Linked DNA regions of Homo sapiens: regions 1, 2, 3 and 5 are each linked to region 4. Evidence: promoter capture Hi-C in 16 types of primary human blood cells and fetal thymus (Javierre and others, 2016). All regions are on one chromosome and are shown on one strand. The core of a region is centred on a gene start or on the middle of the fragment in contact, and the rest is flanking DNA. Distances in the headings are between cores, read along the strand shown. Region 1 holds the start of ESYT3 (extended synaptotagmin 3). Region 2 overlaps LOC124909438 (a long non-coding RNA gene). Region 3 overlaps MRAS (muscle RAS oncogene homolog). Region 4 holds the start of FOXL2 (forkhead box L2). Region 5 overlaps MRAS (muscle RAS oncogene homolog).

Region 1 (2,700 bases), core at 187-2,686, 510 kb before region 4:
AGTATCCCTAGCCTACACTCTCTTTTGCTTCAGCAGACCTGGGTTAACCAATAGAGAAATATTTTGAGGAAAGAATTCTGTGGTCAAATAATCTGGGAAACACTGGGTTAAATAGAATTTAATAACTTTTTGTCTGAAGGACTTCTCAGAGCCTTTACTAGGACTGTGTACATGCAACTCTCAAGAAGGAACTCCAGCGAGCAGCATTTCTTCCGTTGATTTCCCAGGCTACACTGGGAGAATGTTAAGTTGGGGGACTTTAAGCCTCTGTTTTGGCTGAGTCCTGGAAAGCCAAGAACAATAGAGAAGGGTCCAGGTATTCTGACCACCAGGAACTCACGTATTGTTGAAAAAACTCATTGCAGTAAGTAATTTTATCCAAGAGAGAGGATAAAGCCAGAGAGAGAAAAAGAGAGTGACAGAGCAAGAGTCAGAACGAGAACGGGAGACCGGGGCGGGGTGGGGAGGGGGGAGGGAGGGAGAGAGAGAAAAGGAAAGAGAATATTTTGATTGCTATCCATCGGCTCCAGCCTTTCGATAAAGCTGTTGAAACAGTAGAGTCATTCCAAATCACTCTGGTACATTTGTCAACTCCAAAATCACATTCCAGTAATTGATGTGAGCCCTTTCATGTGGCCGTCTGAAATATATGCTATCCGCAAGACGATTTACTATCCGAACTTAAGAGATTCGGAGCTCCACCTGCTCTGATCATTAAAGGGTTAGAAACCATGGGCTTCACCATTGACTCTCAGGCACCTCGGGGCTTCCTCTTCATCTTTCCTTTTATTCGCCGGTCGCTTGCCCTTGTTGGGCGCCCCACAGATGGCCAAGACGGGCCGGTCCCCGGAAGTTCCCCGTCTGATGATGCAGGGAATGACGATCCAAACAGACACCTAGAAGAGAGGATGGGGAGAGAGGGGCAGAGGGTTTTGTGGCGCGCAGGAGGGGCCCTGAGCTCGGCTTGGTGAGGCTGGGGGCTAGGTCCAAGCTTTACAGATGCCAGAGGAGCTGGCAGCGTTGCAGGCTCTAGGGGCCAGTTGGAGGGCCGGGACGCAGGACCTGAGGCTGGGGAGGCCTGGCTGAGCCTGTCCAGGGAGGGCCTCGAATGCCAGCTGAGTCCAGACTATACTGTGTATTATAGACCGCGTGTAGGAAACAGGTTTTAGGTGATGTTTATCCATGATAAGCCAGTTGTACACAGGTGTTGGTGAGTCATTAACCACCTAGGGCAGCACTTGGTCCACCCGGACTGGCGAGTGCACACCTCCGGCTGACGCCTGCGCCACGTGCTGGGGTCGGAGGCCGAGCTCACCGGCTGGTTGCTCTTTAGAGCGGGCAGGAGCCAGGCGGGCGGCCCGCCCCTCTAGGGCGGAGACTTCCGGAGCTGCGGACTCACTGGAGCCGAGAACTGGGGCGGCGCGGCGCGGCGCGGTGCATTTCCAGGCGCTGCTCTCCGTCGCAGAGAACCCTGAGCTCGGCGCGCCGAGAGTCCCAGCAGGGCAAGGGGGCGCGGCGTCCTGGTCCTCGAGCTTGGGAGACAGATGCGCATGGGCGTGGGGGCATGCGGACCTAAGCTCGGGTGAAGCTCTCGGGAAGGGCAAGACTGCGGCGACGAGATGCGAGCAGAGGAGCCCTGCGCCCCCGGGGCCCCCAGCGCCCTGGGAGCCCAGCGCACGCCGGGCCCCGAGCTGCGCCTGTCCAGCCAGCTGCTGCCCGAGCTCTGTACCTTCGTGGTGCGCGTGCTGTTCTACCTGGGGCCTGTCTACCTAGCTGGCTACCTGGGGCTCAGCATAACCTGGTTGCTGCTCGGCGCCCTGCTGTGGATGTGGTGGCGCAGGAACCGCCGCGGGAAGCTTGGGCGCCTGGCCGCCGCCTTCGAATTCCTTGACAATGAACGCGAGTTCATCAGCCGCGAGCTGCGGGGCCAGCACCTGCCAGCCTGGGTGAGCCAAGCCGGGTGGGAGTGGGAGGTGGGGAGATGCCTTTCGAGGTTCGGAGGAACTTGCGGTCAGCGGGGAGCTGGTGCGCGCAAACCCGAGGCAGGGCGGGAGCCCGGCGACCTGCACACCCCGTTCCCCACCGCTCCCGGGGCGCAGACCCTGGGGACGGTGACCGCCCCTCCCGCGGCGCGCAGCACCCTCACGTCCACCTCTGGTCCGACTGCGGTGGGAGTGGGGAACTTGGGTTTCATTTAAGGCCCCAGAGCTCGAGAGAAGAGTCACGGGCAGACCACACCCGGGAGAAAAACAAGGGCGTCTGGGACTTCGCAGACTTACTCGGGTTGGAATCAGAAGGCATTTCTTCCACCCGCCTGTTGATTCAGAGAACGAACGCCGGACGCAAAACGTAGATGGGCAAATACCGCAGTGACAGAAACGGCGGGCCCAGTTGCTTTCGGCCGAGGCCTGGACTGCGGTAGGGGGAGGGCTCCGCGGGGCTGGAGGTGGAGTGGCGGGTACGGCTGGGAGACCGACGGCGCCGGGCCCCGGGCCTCCTTCCCTCCCTCCCTCCGCCGGATAGGGATGCCGGCACACGCACACTGCCCCGACAAACCCATCTCCTGGGGCGGCATGGGCGGCACTACGATTCCTCAAACGCTTCTGGTCCTGGCTTACCTAACAAAACCCAAGTTCTGGGCCCCATTGCATAACTCCCAGGGTGGCACAGAGGTATCCTGGGTGATTCTTATGATTAGGT
Region 2 (2,763 bases), core at 56-2,555, 610 kb before region 4:
CATAAGCACCATTTGCTGAGAAGACTTTCCTTTACTTCACTGGATTGATTTGGTGTCTTTGTCAAAAACCAACTGGCCATGTAAGTGTGAGTTTCCTTCAGGATTCTCTAGTCTATTCCGCTGATCTAGTTGACCATCCTTATACCAGTACTTGATTACTAGTTGTATAGTAAGTCTTAAAATCAGGTAATCTAAGTCATCCAACCTTGTTTTTCTTTTTCAAAATTATTTGTCTATTTTAAGTTCTTTTACTTTCATACAAATCCTAGAGTCAATCTGTTAATATGTCTGTCTTTAAAAATCCTCTTGAAAATTTGATTAAATTGCATTAAACCTAAAGATTGACTTGGGAAGAATTGACATCTTAATAATGCGGAGTCCTCCAGTCCATAAATAGGATGTGTGTTCCATTTATTCTTTAACTTCAGCAATGTTTTATAGTTGTTAAACCAATCTTGCAAGTCATTTGTATTCATTATGCTATTATTAATGAAATTGACTTTCAAAATTTATTGCCAATTTTGTGCTGCCAGTACATAGAAATACAACTGATTTTTTGTATATTGACTTTGTATTCTGAGATCTTGCTAAACTCACTTATTAGTGCTGGTAGTTTCTTTGTTGATTGTGAGGGTAACTTTGAAAACACAAGATAGTGAGCCATAAAATGGAAGCAGCTAGTCTGAGCCTAACAACCTGCCTTGGACTGTGTTGCATTTTCTTCGTGTCGTAGTAGTCATTGGGGGTTACAATCAAACTGCTCATCTGTATTGTGAGTCCCTGTAGGGCAGGTTGTCCCAGCTACTTCCTAGTGAATCTTTTTTAATGAACCTCAGGTTTCCATCATGACCTGAACGAATGAGCCCTATGCTGCCCACCATTCATGCTTACTGAGAAGTCAGAGGAGATGACAAGGAGACTTCTACATGTTGTAGAGGAAGCTGACCATAGGTCCCTCCTGTTGACCGATGTTTCTCCATGGGTCTCTCATGCATCTGCATATTTTTCAAGCAGAGGCACTGACTGCTTTATTCCCAACAGCCTTTCCAGGAATGTTTATATAGTGAACAACCTTGAAAGATAGAGGTAGTATCTCCTTCTAAAGCAAAGGAAAGGTTTGTTTACAGCCTTGGAAGTTAGAGATAATGTCTCCTTCTGTAGAAAGCATACTTAACTCTTCAGTGTAAAAGCTTTGGTTTCTTGAAGCTAGGATTCTTCTCCTATAACACAACCTGCTGCATGTGCAGGTGTCACCTGGCCCTCTCTGCATTGTCCTATGGGAATCAGTTCAGGAAACCTATGCAAAAATGCTAATACTTTGGTTATTGCTATTGCTTTGAATAATAAACTATCCTTCATCTCTGACCCAGGAGCGACTTATATGTTCTTTCAGCATCCATGATTATGGAAGAATAACTTGTAAGCTTGCAAGGAGGGTAAAATCTCAGATGATTTACAGTTCTTGACACCTCCCTAGAGGTAATGAACTTTGCCCTTGATTGTTGAGCCTCCTAGAGAGCATGCTCTTCCAACCTCCCATTAGAACTCCTTGCCCATACACTTGAAACTTTTGAGGCAGAGCTAGATTTCAGTCAAGCTACAAAGACCTCATTATCGAGGACCACACTCCTCCAGTGTTTCACCCAAAGTTTCCTGAATGGCTGCCCTGGAGATTTGAGGGCTTAATGCTAAAAGGCCTTAAGCATTTAGAGATCTCTAAACATCACTAATATTTAACTCAAAGATTTGTGTGCATTTTATGGAATACAACATACCACATCCGTATTTGTTTTAATGTAAAAATAACACTTTAAAATTCTAGCCATCAGGGATTTTAAAAGTGTTTTCTAACTGTCTTGTTTGTCAAGACATTTGACGTGATGCTACTGGATGATGCTACTGGATTTCAGAAAATTGGGCTAAATTAGAGCAAGCAAGCCCTGCATTTCAAATTCAGCATCCAGGCAATTTTTTTCTTTGACTTGGTATTACAATATTTCAAGTACTAAAACTCATGAAAACATGTGACCACAAATGAAGATCATTTTTCCATTGTTTTACAAACTGGGGCTCGGTTACTGAGAGATGCTCAGGAAGCTGGCCCCAGGCTATGGGTGGCAGAATGTCATTGTGACTATCTCCTGTTGAGAGGCCACATTGTTCATGTGGCAGGGAATGGCTCTTACCTAAGCTGCTGCTGCTTTTTTTTTTTTTTTTTTTGAGGTCTCACTCTGTCACCCAGGCTGGAGTGCAGTGGCCCAATCATCATTGCTCACTGAGCCTCAAACTCCAGGACTCAAGCAATCCTTTCACCTCAGCCTCCCAAGTAGCTGAGACTACAGGCAAATGACACCATTCCCAGCTAATTTTTAAATTTTTTGTAGAGACAGGGTCTTGCTGTGTTGTCCAGGCTAGTCTCAAACTCCTGGGCTCAAGCAATCCTCCCACCTTGGCCTCCCAAAGTGCTGGTGAAACAGCTCCGTTGTCTCAGGATTTACCTGTGGTTCTTTGTCTCACGCCAAGAAAGAGTTCAGGACACCGACACTCATGAGAAGTGGGTTTAGGAGTGGAAAGTTTAATAGACAAAGAAGAGGAGAAAGAGAACTTCCTCATACTGAGAAAGCGGGTCACCCAAGAGGGGGTCTTTGGTTTGGGGTGGAATGCGATCAGTTTTGTAAAGAGGATTGAGGAGGCAGTAATTGATTTACATAGGGCCTAGGGGATTGGTTTGACCAGGTATGACATTTTACAGAGCTCACGAAA
Region 3 (2,700 bases), core at 142-2,641, 590 kb before region 4:
ACCTCCAGCCTGGTTCACCACTCCAAAGCTAGGTGGCCAGTCCTTCTTCCTCCGCATCTGCTTCACAGACCTTTGCAGAGGAAAATCTCACACTCATTGCCATGCCTGCCTCGTTTTCAGGAAGTTTCCCTTTTATTTGGCTTCAGTCCGTCTCTCTGCAGTCTGGTTACTCTTTAAAAATGAAGGTTGAATTGCCTCTCCCCACCTCAAGGAAGAACCTAGACCCTATGTCTTTCTTATTTTTGGTCAAGCATAAACATTTTCACATTCTTCATTAATGGTGTCTAACATCTTAAATATAAATAATGAAAACACAGCAAAGCAGCAGCCTTTTTTGAATGTGCCTTTTTGGCCTCCACCTCTCTGGGCTCTGACATACTCCTGGGGTGGGCTGTGTGCCTGTCCCTGAAGAATGCCAGGCTGGCCCATGTCCTGCAGGCCAAGTAACCCCTGCTGCTGCTCTCTTCAGTGAGATCATTTCCTTTGATCTCACACCTCCTTGCACCAAAGCCAGGCCAAGCCAAGGCAGTGCGAAGAGTTGTCTGCCTTAGAACGGCCGTGCCACTCAGATGTGTGTGTGCTCAAGAAGGATGGGTACAGAGTGTTGATTTATTTGGGTTACACAATGTGTAAAACTTTTTCATTGGTGGCCAGTATTTAAAATAATAAAATAGCCAGAAATCTGAGTTTTTGCATAGACTCAGATTGCTGGCTATTCTTTAAAAATTTAGACTATCTGGCAAGCTCATTGCAGATATTATGTTGCAGCAGTCAGCTGGTGCGGGGTGTCAGTAATCTCCTGTTTGCACAGGCCCCACTGCTCCCTGTTGCCTGTACCTATCCCCTTCTATCACTTATTGACACAGCCTCTGCCGGCACGTGCACGTGACTTTGGGATGTCCGTTTTGTTCTTGATTCCCTCTTGCTGCTACTGCAGGGCAAAGCAGTTGAGATGGGGGGATCAGTCAGAAAGCATCCGTCTCTCAGGCAGGGGCCTGTGAGATGCAGAGGGATGCCTGGCCCTGGGATCCGGGCCTTCCGTTCCCTCTCTGTTGCCACCCTGCTCTTCTCCTGGGCTTACCAGATTGAACTGGCGGAACACCGTGATTCCATGAGATGAGCAGTTCTGGGCTGGGACAGCTAAGGAGTTAAGGGACAACCTTAGCTGTACTCTGGGGGCTGGGTGTGGCATCCCCAGCTCAGAAGGCAGGGCCAGTCAGGGGGCCATGCCCTGGGTGCTGGTGGGGTCTCAGTGCTTTGGGAATTTGGACAGCAAGGAAGGACCCCTCATCGCCACTCCTCCTGCTGGGCTGGTGCCCACGGGTGTCCAGTGGGACTCCTCACATGGTATGTCCTTCGTGAGGCCTGCCACTGCAGTCCTCTAGGTCCTGTGTGGCCCATGGCATAGTGCCCACATCACCTCTGTCCTACTGTCTACCCAAGCCAGACTCCCAGCCAGCTGCCAGTATCACTCCTGCATTTGGAAATGCAGACAGCAGACACGTTGGAGCGTCTCTGAGCAGAAAGCTGTGCCAGGGCTCTGGGATGCCCAGAGAAAAAGAAGACAAGGCCTGGCCCTTTGTCCACTGTCCCACTAGCAGAGGAATGTGACTGTGAAGTAACACCCAGCTCCTAGATTTGAGGGCAGATGAAGAGGGGCATGCCGAGCTTTCAGGTCAGAGATATGGCCTTGGACAAACCACAGAGCCTCTCTGACCTTCACGGTTCCTGAAGGGGCTAAACAATGCCTCTTGGTGAAGCGTCTTGAGTCATCACATGGAATAATGGCTGCGGAGCACTTGCGCTGCCACCTGCCACCTGGTTGGCATTCCATAGATGGAAGCAAGGTGGCTCAGTGGAAGGAGACCTTGGGGGATAGAAGAGGGCCTTAGAGGAAGGAATCGTTTCTGGGGGATAGGACCTGACACTTGGGTACCATCCCTGTCCTTGAGGACACCAGACCAGGAATCAGCAGAGCAGAGGCCATGCGAGGGGAAGGGGGCACTTGGGCAGCTCAAGAAAGGCCTAGAATGTTGTGGTCAGCGGGGAGAGCTTCATGGATGGCATTCCAGGAGACTCTGTGCTTGGGTTAGTTGGGGAGTGATAATGCTGGAGTGGTGGGTGGGACAATGCTAGTGGTGGTTGCTCAGGCCGGGGGCAGACATGGGCCACAGTGGTGGACAGCCTTGCTAGGCCTTGGCCTGGGATGTGGGTAAAGGGCTGTTTGCACTGCCAAGGGAGAAAAAGGAAGAGAATTTGGGGCAGAGAGGTGGGCAAAGGGGCCCACCCTTGGGCAGGTGAGGGAGGTGCTGGCTGAATCCAGTTTGTGCAGGGTTGAGCCTGAGCAGCGGAGCAGAACAGTGAGGAGGTGCGGGGCTCTGTGAGCAGAGGGCAAAGCGGAGTCAGAGCAGGGCTGGGAGGACAGCAGCCTGCCAGGCTCTGGGGAGGCCAAGGGCGCTCAGTCTGGGGAACCCCAGAGTGTGCAGAGGCTGGCCTTCCCTGGTTGAGTGACCACCAGCATGACGTTCCCAATTGCACGCAGATTCCTATGGAAGGCTGCAGGAGTCCTCCTCTTTCACTGCGGGTGAGACTGCCCCAGTGCTAGGAAAATATTAATAGACCCCCAGGGACTGAGAACAAGGATTGAAAAATAAAACCACTTCCTACTCTCTTTCCTCAGCTGCCACTCCAAGAAGTTGT
Region 4 (2,700 bases), core at 111-2,610:
CGGCGGCCCCGTGGTGCGGTGGGGCAGGCGGCGGTGCGGCGGCCGCGTGCAGATGGTGTGCGTGCGGATGCGGGTGGGGGTGCGGCGGAGGCGGGGGTGCGGCCGGCGGGCCTCCCAGGCCATTGTACGAGTTCACTACGCCGGGGGGCAGCGCCATGCTCTGCACGCGTGTGTACGGCCCGTACGAGGCGGCCGGGCCCGCCAGCCCCTTGACCACAGCGGCCGCGCCAGGGCTACCGGGGCCCGCGGCTGCAGCCGCAGCTGCTGCAGCCGCTGCGGCTGCCGCCATCTGGCAGGAGGCATAGGGCATGGGTGAGGGAGGCTGCGGTAGCGGCCACGAGTTGTTGAGGAAGCCAGACTGCAGGTACTTGGGGGGCGCCAGGTAGCCGTAGCCGTCGGCCCCGGCGCCCGCCACGCCGCACCCGCCTGCGGCGCCTCCGGCCCCGAAGAGCCCCTTGCCGGGCTGGAAGTGCGCGGGCGGCGGCCGGAAGGGCCTCTTCATGCGGCGGCGGCGCCGGTAGTTGCCCTTCTCGAACATGTCTTCGCAGGCCGGGTCCAGCGTCCAGTAGTTGCCCTTGCGCTCGCCGCCGCCCTCGCGCGGCACCTTGATGAAGCACTCGTTGAGGCTGAGGTTGTGGCGGATGCTATTTTGCCAGCCCTTCTTATTCTTCTCGTAGAACGGGAACTTCGCGATGATGTACTGGTAGATGCCGGACAGCGTGAGCCTCTTCTCCGCGCTCTCGCGGATCGCCATGGCGATGAGCGCCACGTACGAGTACGGGGGCTTCTGCGCCGGGTCCGGCTTCTCCGGGGCTGTCCCGCCGCCACCCCCACCGCCCTTGCCTGGGCTCGGCGGCGGCCCTTCTGGCTCCTTGACTGTGCGACCGGTCTCTGGGGCCAGCAGGGCCCCCGCCGCGTCCTCGGGCTCGGGGTAGCTGGCCATCATGACAAAGCCGGCGCGCCGCGGCCGGGCCGCCTCTGCTCTCCGCTCCAGGCGCTGGCGCGGCAAAGAGTTGGGGCGCACGAGTCCGCTTACGGCCAAGTCTCAAACTTCTGGAGACTGCGGATGCCGCCCGCGCTTGCTTGCTGGAGGCCTGTCGCTGCTCTCCCCTCTCCTTCCCCTTCCCCTAGGGAGCGGCCGGCGGGAGTGGAGCTCAGCCTCTGGCCATGGGGAGTCCGCCCAACAGAGAGGGGCTCCGGCCTCGCCGCCCCTCCCCGCTCAGGCCAGTCCCCGCCTTGGTGGGTTTTCTTTTCTGCGCTCTTCCCCTCCCCCCGCCCCCCGGTTTCCCGAAGCACGACCCGCGTCTCTGGCGGAGCTGCCTCCTGGAGTCCCTAGTGCGCCAGGAGCCTCGCTCTGTTCTGATTCGTATGGGCTCCACCGAGTTCCGCTTGCGTCAGGCGCCTTCGCCCCTATAGCGGGGCGGCCAGCCGCGCACGGGCGAGTTCATCTCCAAGTCACTTTTTGTAAACGCCCCGCACAGCCTGGACCGGCCTGCCCCCGCCCAGCGAGCCTCAGGGGCCCAGCCGACAGCCAGGCTCACGCGCCCTTGAAATCTGCCGGTACTCGCTCTGCGGGCTGGGCTGGGAGATGACGAGGACCCCGGTGGGGTCTGCCCGCACCCGGCCAAAGCCCAGGAAGCTCGGGCCCCAGCGAGGAAAGGCGCTCCAAGCCTCCTCGCGGCTTTCAGGTGAAAGAAAACGACTCCTTTGCTCTGCCGTTTGCTGCCGTCTTGAGGCTGAACTTCTAGCTCGGGGCTGGGGAGGGGCGAGACGGCGAGGGGGCTGGACGGGGTAGGGTGGGGAGAGCTGCTCTGAGGCTTTGGGAAAGTCAGCCCAGAAACGGGTGTGACTGTACGAAGAAGCCTCGGCCTGGCCTGTCCCTCGCGCTCTCAGAGTGACTGGGCTGGAATGGGGCAGGGGAGAGGATCTCTGGAAATAGTCGTCAGGGGCGCCGCCTGAATCACCTCTGCCTCTCCCTGCGTTACCAGTGGATCTAGGAACCAGGAATCCGTGTACTAATCCTACGGGGTTGGAGTGAAGGTTGGATGTGTGCTTTAACAGCACCAAGTAGATGCCCCTCAGCTATTGCACTAACACAGGCGGGGCTGTTGCCCGGGACTTTGCGGGACTGTGTATGTGTGTGCACAGGGGTCACATATGGAAGTCATGGAGAGGAGCTGTCCTTGAGATGGGTGAGATACCAGGTGCATGTGTGCTGCTCAGAAACACAGGTATGCACATGTACAAGGTGTGAGATTTGTATTTACGAGGTAAAACACACTTATACTGATAGTTATGTAATATGTTCATCAAGTATTAGAGTAAATGTAGCTGGTGGATATAGCATCTTCTCTTTTTCTCCTTTCTTACTTCTTTCCTTCCCCCCTTTCTTCCTTTCTTTCACAATTCTTCGATGCCTCTTTCCCTCCCAGTGTATGTATTTTGCCACAGACTGGGAAGACAAACATCAGGCTGAGGGAGGGACTTGTTCAAATCTCTCTCCTGATGAGACATTTGTTCTGATCTTTCTCCAAAGAATCAGGAGTTAGTTGTCACCTACCTTAAGCAGAATTCTGATGGGAATCCAATTATTTCAGCATGTACAGAGATTGTTTCAGGGAAAATCAGGTGTGCCTTTTAACAGTGTGCTCCTTAACAGTGCCTTTTAACTTGGCCTAAACAAAAAGTCTGCAGTCATAA
Region 5 (2,728 bases), core at 112-2,611, 570 kb before region 4:
ATTCCTTCTCTTTGTATTTCTGTACCCATTAACCAACTTCTCTTCATCCCCCCACCCACACACCCTTCCCAGCCTTTGATGTCAATCATTCCACTCTCTACCTCCATGAAATCCACTGTTTTAGCTCCCACATATCAGTGAGAGCATGCAATATTTGTCTTTCTGTGCCTGGCTTGTTTCACTTAACATAATGACCTCCAGTTCCATCCATGTTGCTGCAAATGACAGAATGTCTTTTTTTTTTTTTTTTTTTTTTTTGAGACGGAGTCTCACACTTGTTGGGCAGACTAGAGTTCAGTGGCACGATCACTGCAACCTCCCCCTCCCGGGTTCAAGCAATTCTCCTGCCTAAGCCTCCCAAGTAGCTGAAATTACAGGCACCTGCCAACACGCTCGGCTAATTTTTGTATTTTTAGTAGAGATGGGGTTTCACCATCTTGGCTAGGTTGGTCTCGAACTCCTGACCTCAGGTGATCTGCCCACCTCGGCCTCCCAAAGTGCTGGCATTACAGGCATGAGCCACTGCGCCCAGCCTCATTCTTTGTTATGGATGAATAATATTCTATTGTGTATATATGCTACATTTTCTTTATCATTCATTCATTGAAAGGCACTTAGGTTGCTTCCTTACTCTTGGCTATTGTGACTAGCGCTATGATAAACATGGGAGTGCAGGTATCACTTCAATATACTGATTTCCTTTCCTTTGAGTGTATACTCAGCAGTAGGATTGCTGGACCATATGGTAGCTCTATTTTTAGTTTTTTGAGGGATCTCCATACCATTTTCCATAGTGGCTATACTAGTTTATATTCCCACCAGCAGTATCCAAACATTCTCTTTTCTCCACATCTTCCCTAGCATTTGTTATTTTTTGTCTTTTTGATAATAGCCATTGTAACTGGGGTGAGATGTTATCTCATTGTAGTTTTGATTTGCATTTCATTGTAGTTTTGATTTGCATTTCTCTGATGATTAGCGATGTTGATAATTTTTTCATATACCTGCTATCCATTTGTTTGTCTCTGAGAAATGCCTATTCAGGTCTTTTGCCCTTTAAATCAGAATTTTATTTTATTTTGCTAATGAGTTGTTTGAGTTTCTTATATATTCAGGTTATTAATCCCTTGCCCCTTAAACACTAAGTCCCCATTTTCCCCTCTCCTCAGTCCTTGGCAACCACCATTCTACTTTCTTTTTTTTTTCTGAAATGAGGTCTCACTCTGTCACCCAGGCCGGAATGCAGTGGTGCGATCTCGGTTCACTGCAACCTCCGCTTTCTGAGTTCAAGTGATTATCCTGCCTCACCCTCCTGAGGAGCTGGGATTACAGGCGTGCACCACCACGCCTGGCTAATTTTTGTATTTTTAGTAGGGATGGGGTTTCCGTGTTGGCCAGGCTGATCTCGAACTCCTGGCCTCAGGTGATCCACCCACCTCGGCCTCCTAAAGTGCTGGGATTATAGGCGTGAGCCACCGCGCCCGGCTTCTACTTTCTGTCTCTATGTATTTAACTAATCTAGATACCTCATTTGAGTGCTATGATAAGTGGAATAATATTTGTCCTTTTATGTGGCTGGCTTATTTTAATTAGTACAATCTATTCAAGGTTCATCCATGTTGCTGCATGTTCTGAATTTCTTTCCTTTTTTTTTCTTTTTTTTTTGAGACGGTGTCTCGCTCTGTCGCCAGGCTGGAGTGCAGTGGTGTGATCTCGGCTCACTGCAGCCTCCGCCTCCCGGGTTCAAGTGATTCTCCTGCCTCAGTCTTCCGAGTAGCTGGGACTATAGGCACGTGCCACCACACCCAGCTAATTTTTGTATTTTTAGTAGAGACTGGTAGCATTTTCACCATGCTGGCCAGCATGGTCTCAATCTCTTGACCTCGTGATCCACCCGCCTCGGCCTCCCAAAGTGTTGGGTTTACAGGCATGAGCCGCCACGCCCGGCCTTCTCTCCGTTTTAAAGCTGAATGATATTCCACTGTATGGATGTACCATGTTTTCATTATCTGTTCATCTGTGGATGGACACTTGGGTGGTTTCCACCTTTTTGCTGTTATGAATAACGCTGCTATGAGCATGGTATATAAATATCTGAGTCCCTGCTTTCCTTCTTTCGTCTTAGAGTTCTTGTGTGCCTATTTTTTCTGTTGGTTAGGGATGGAAGGCTGCTAAGCCCCTCACTTTACAATTGTGGAAACTGAGGTACAGATGGAGAGGTCACTAGTCTAGGGTGAGACCTAGCTAGCTGGAGAGCCAGGTTTTGGGCTTCTTGACTCTGCCGAGCGTGTCCTCCACCCTGTCCCACTACCTCCTGCTTTGGCCCAGGCCTTGGGCCTTTAAGGTGGGATGCTGACCAAATCCTCTCCTCACTTACAACAGGGCAGATGTCTCTGGGCCTCCCCACCCTCTGGCTCCCAGCCCCGCCCTCTGCCCAGCCAGCCTCTGGAACTTTGCATCTTTCTTCCATCGGTGGAGAACAGCAGTGGGCCCTGAGTCTCCAGACACTGCTTCCTACCTTGGGGTTCTTGGGCCCAGCTCCGCAACCTCTCTGTCTCCGACTCCCCAGCAAGTGCCCAGTGTTTTCAAAGAGCAAAAGCCTGGCTCTTCTCCTGCACCATCAGAAGCTGGGACATTTCCACCCTGGCTTCTGCCCAAACCTCAGACACAAGTGCTGTTGTCTTCTCAGAGGGGCCTGAACCTGGCTTTTCCCCCACACACTTGAATC

What was found. Contacts are between HindIII fragments. The CHiCAGO score rates a contact against its expected background, and 5 or more counts as called.
Region 1: the fragment with the promoter of ESYT3 here is called in contact with the fragment with the promoter of FOXL2 in region 4 in 6 of 17 cell types (megakaryocytes, erythroblasts, fetal thymus and 3 more); the score reaches 10.5 in megakaryocytes.
Region 2: a contact is called between a fragment that was not itself captured here and the fragment with the promoter of FOXL2 in region 4, in 1 of 17 cell types (erythroblasts). The highest score is 5.7, in erythroblasts.
Region 3: a fragment that was not itself captured here is called in contact with the fragment with the promoter of FOXL2 in region 4 in 1 of 17 cell types (megakaryocytes); the score reaches 5.0 in megakaryocytes.
Region 5: a fragment that was not itself captured here is called in contact with the fragment with the promoter of FOXL2 in region 4 in 1 of 17 cell types (fetal thymus); the score reaches 5.1 in fetal thymus.

What each region holds. Positions count from the first base shown.
Region 1 is chr3:138,433,180-138,435,879 of GRCh38, forward strand. It overlaps ESYT3 (extended synaptotagmin 3), which reads left to right and starts at 1,437. Exons shown (of 23, transcript NM_031913.5): 1 at 1,437-1,946. The coding sequence starts at 1,620. The HindIII fragment of the contact is 865 bases long and covers 990-1,854 here.
Region 2 is chr3:138,333,897-138,336,659 of GRCh38, forward strand. All of the region lies in intron 1 of LOC124909438 (a long non-coding RNA gene), which reads left to right. Among named protein-coding and RNA genes, the nearest start is that of NME9, 5.4 kb to the left of the region's middle. The HindIII fragment of the contact is 234 bases long and covers 1,189-1,422 here.
Region 3 is chr3:138,359,269-138,361,968 of GRCh38, forward strand. The region is part of intron 1 of MRAS (muscle RAS oncogene homolog); the gene reads left to right. Among named protein-coding and RNA genes, the nearest start is that of MRAS, 12 kb to the left of the region's middle. RefSeq lists an enhancer at 822-1,656. The HindIII fragment of the contact is 3,177 bases long and covers 1-2,700 here.
Region 4 is chr3:138,945,777-138,948,476 of GRCh38, forward strand. FOXL2 (forkhead box L2) reads right to left here and starts at 1,361. Exons shown (of 1, transcript NM_023067.4): 1 at 1-1,361. The coding sequence starts at 946. FOXL2NB (FOXL2 neighbor) reads left to right here and starts at 1,441. Exons shown (of 3, transcript NM_001040061.3): 1 at 1,441-1,688. The coding sequence starts at 1,589. RefSeq lists a silencer at 1,377-1,605. The HindIII fragment of the contact is 4,318 bases long and covers 1-2,700 here.
Region 5 is chr3:138,379,124-138,381,851 of GRCh38, forward strand. All of the region lies in intron 2 of MRAS (muscle RAS oncogene homolog), which reads left to right. Among named protein-coding and RNA genes, the nearest start is that of MRAS, 32 kb to the left of the region's middle. The HindIII fragment of the contact is 6,595 bases long and covers 1-2,728 here.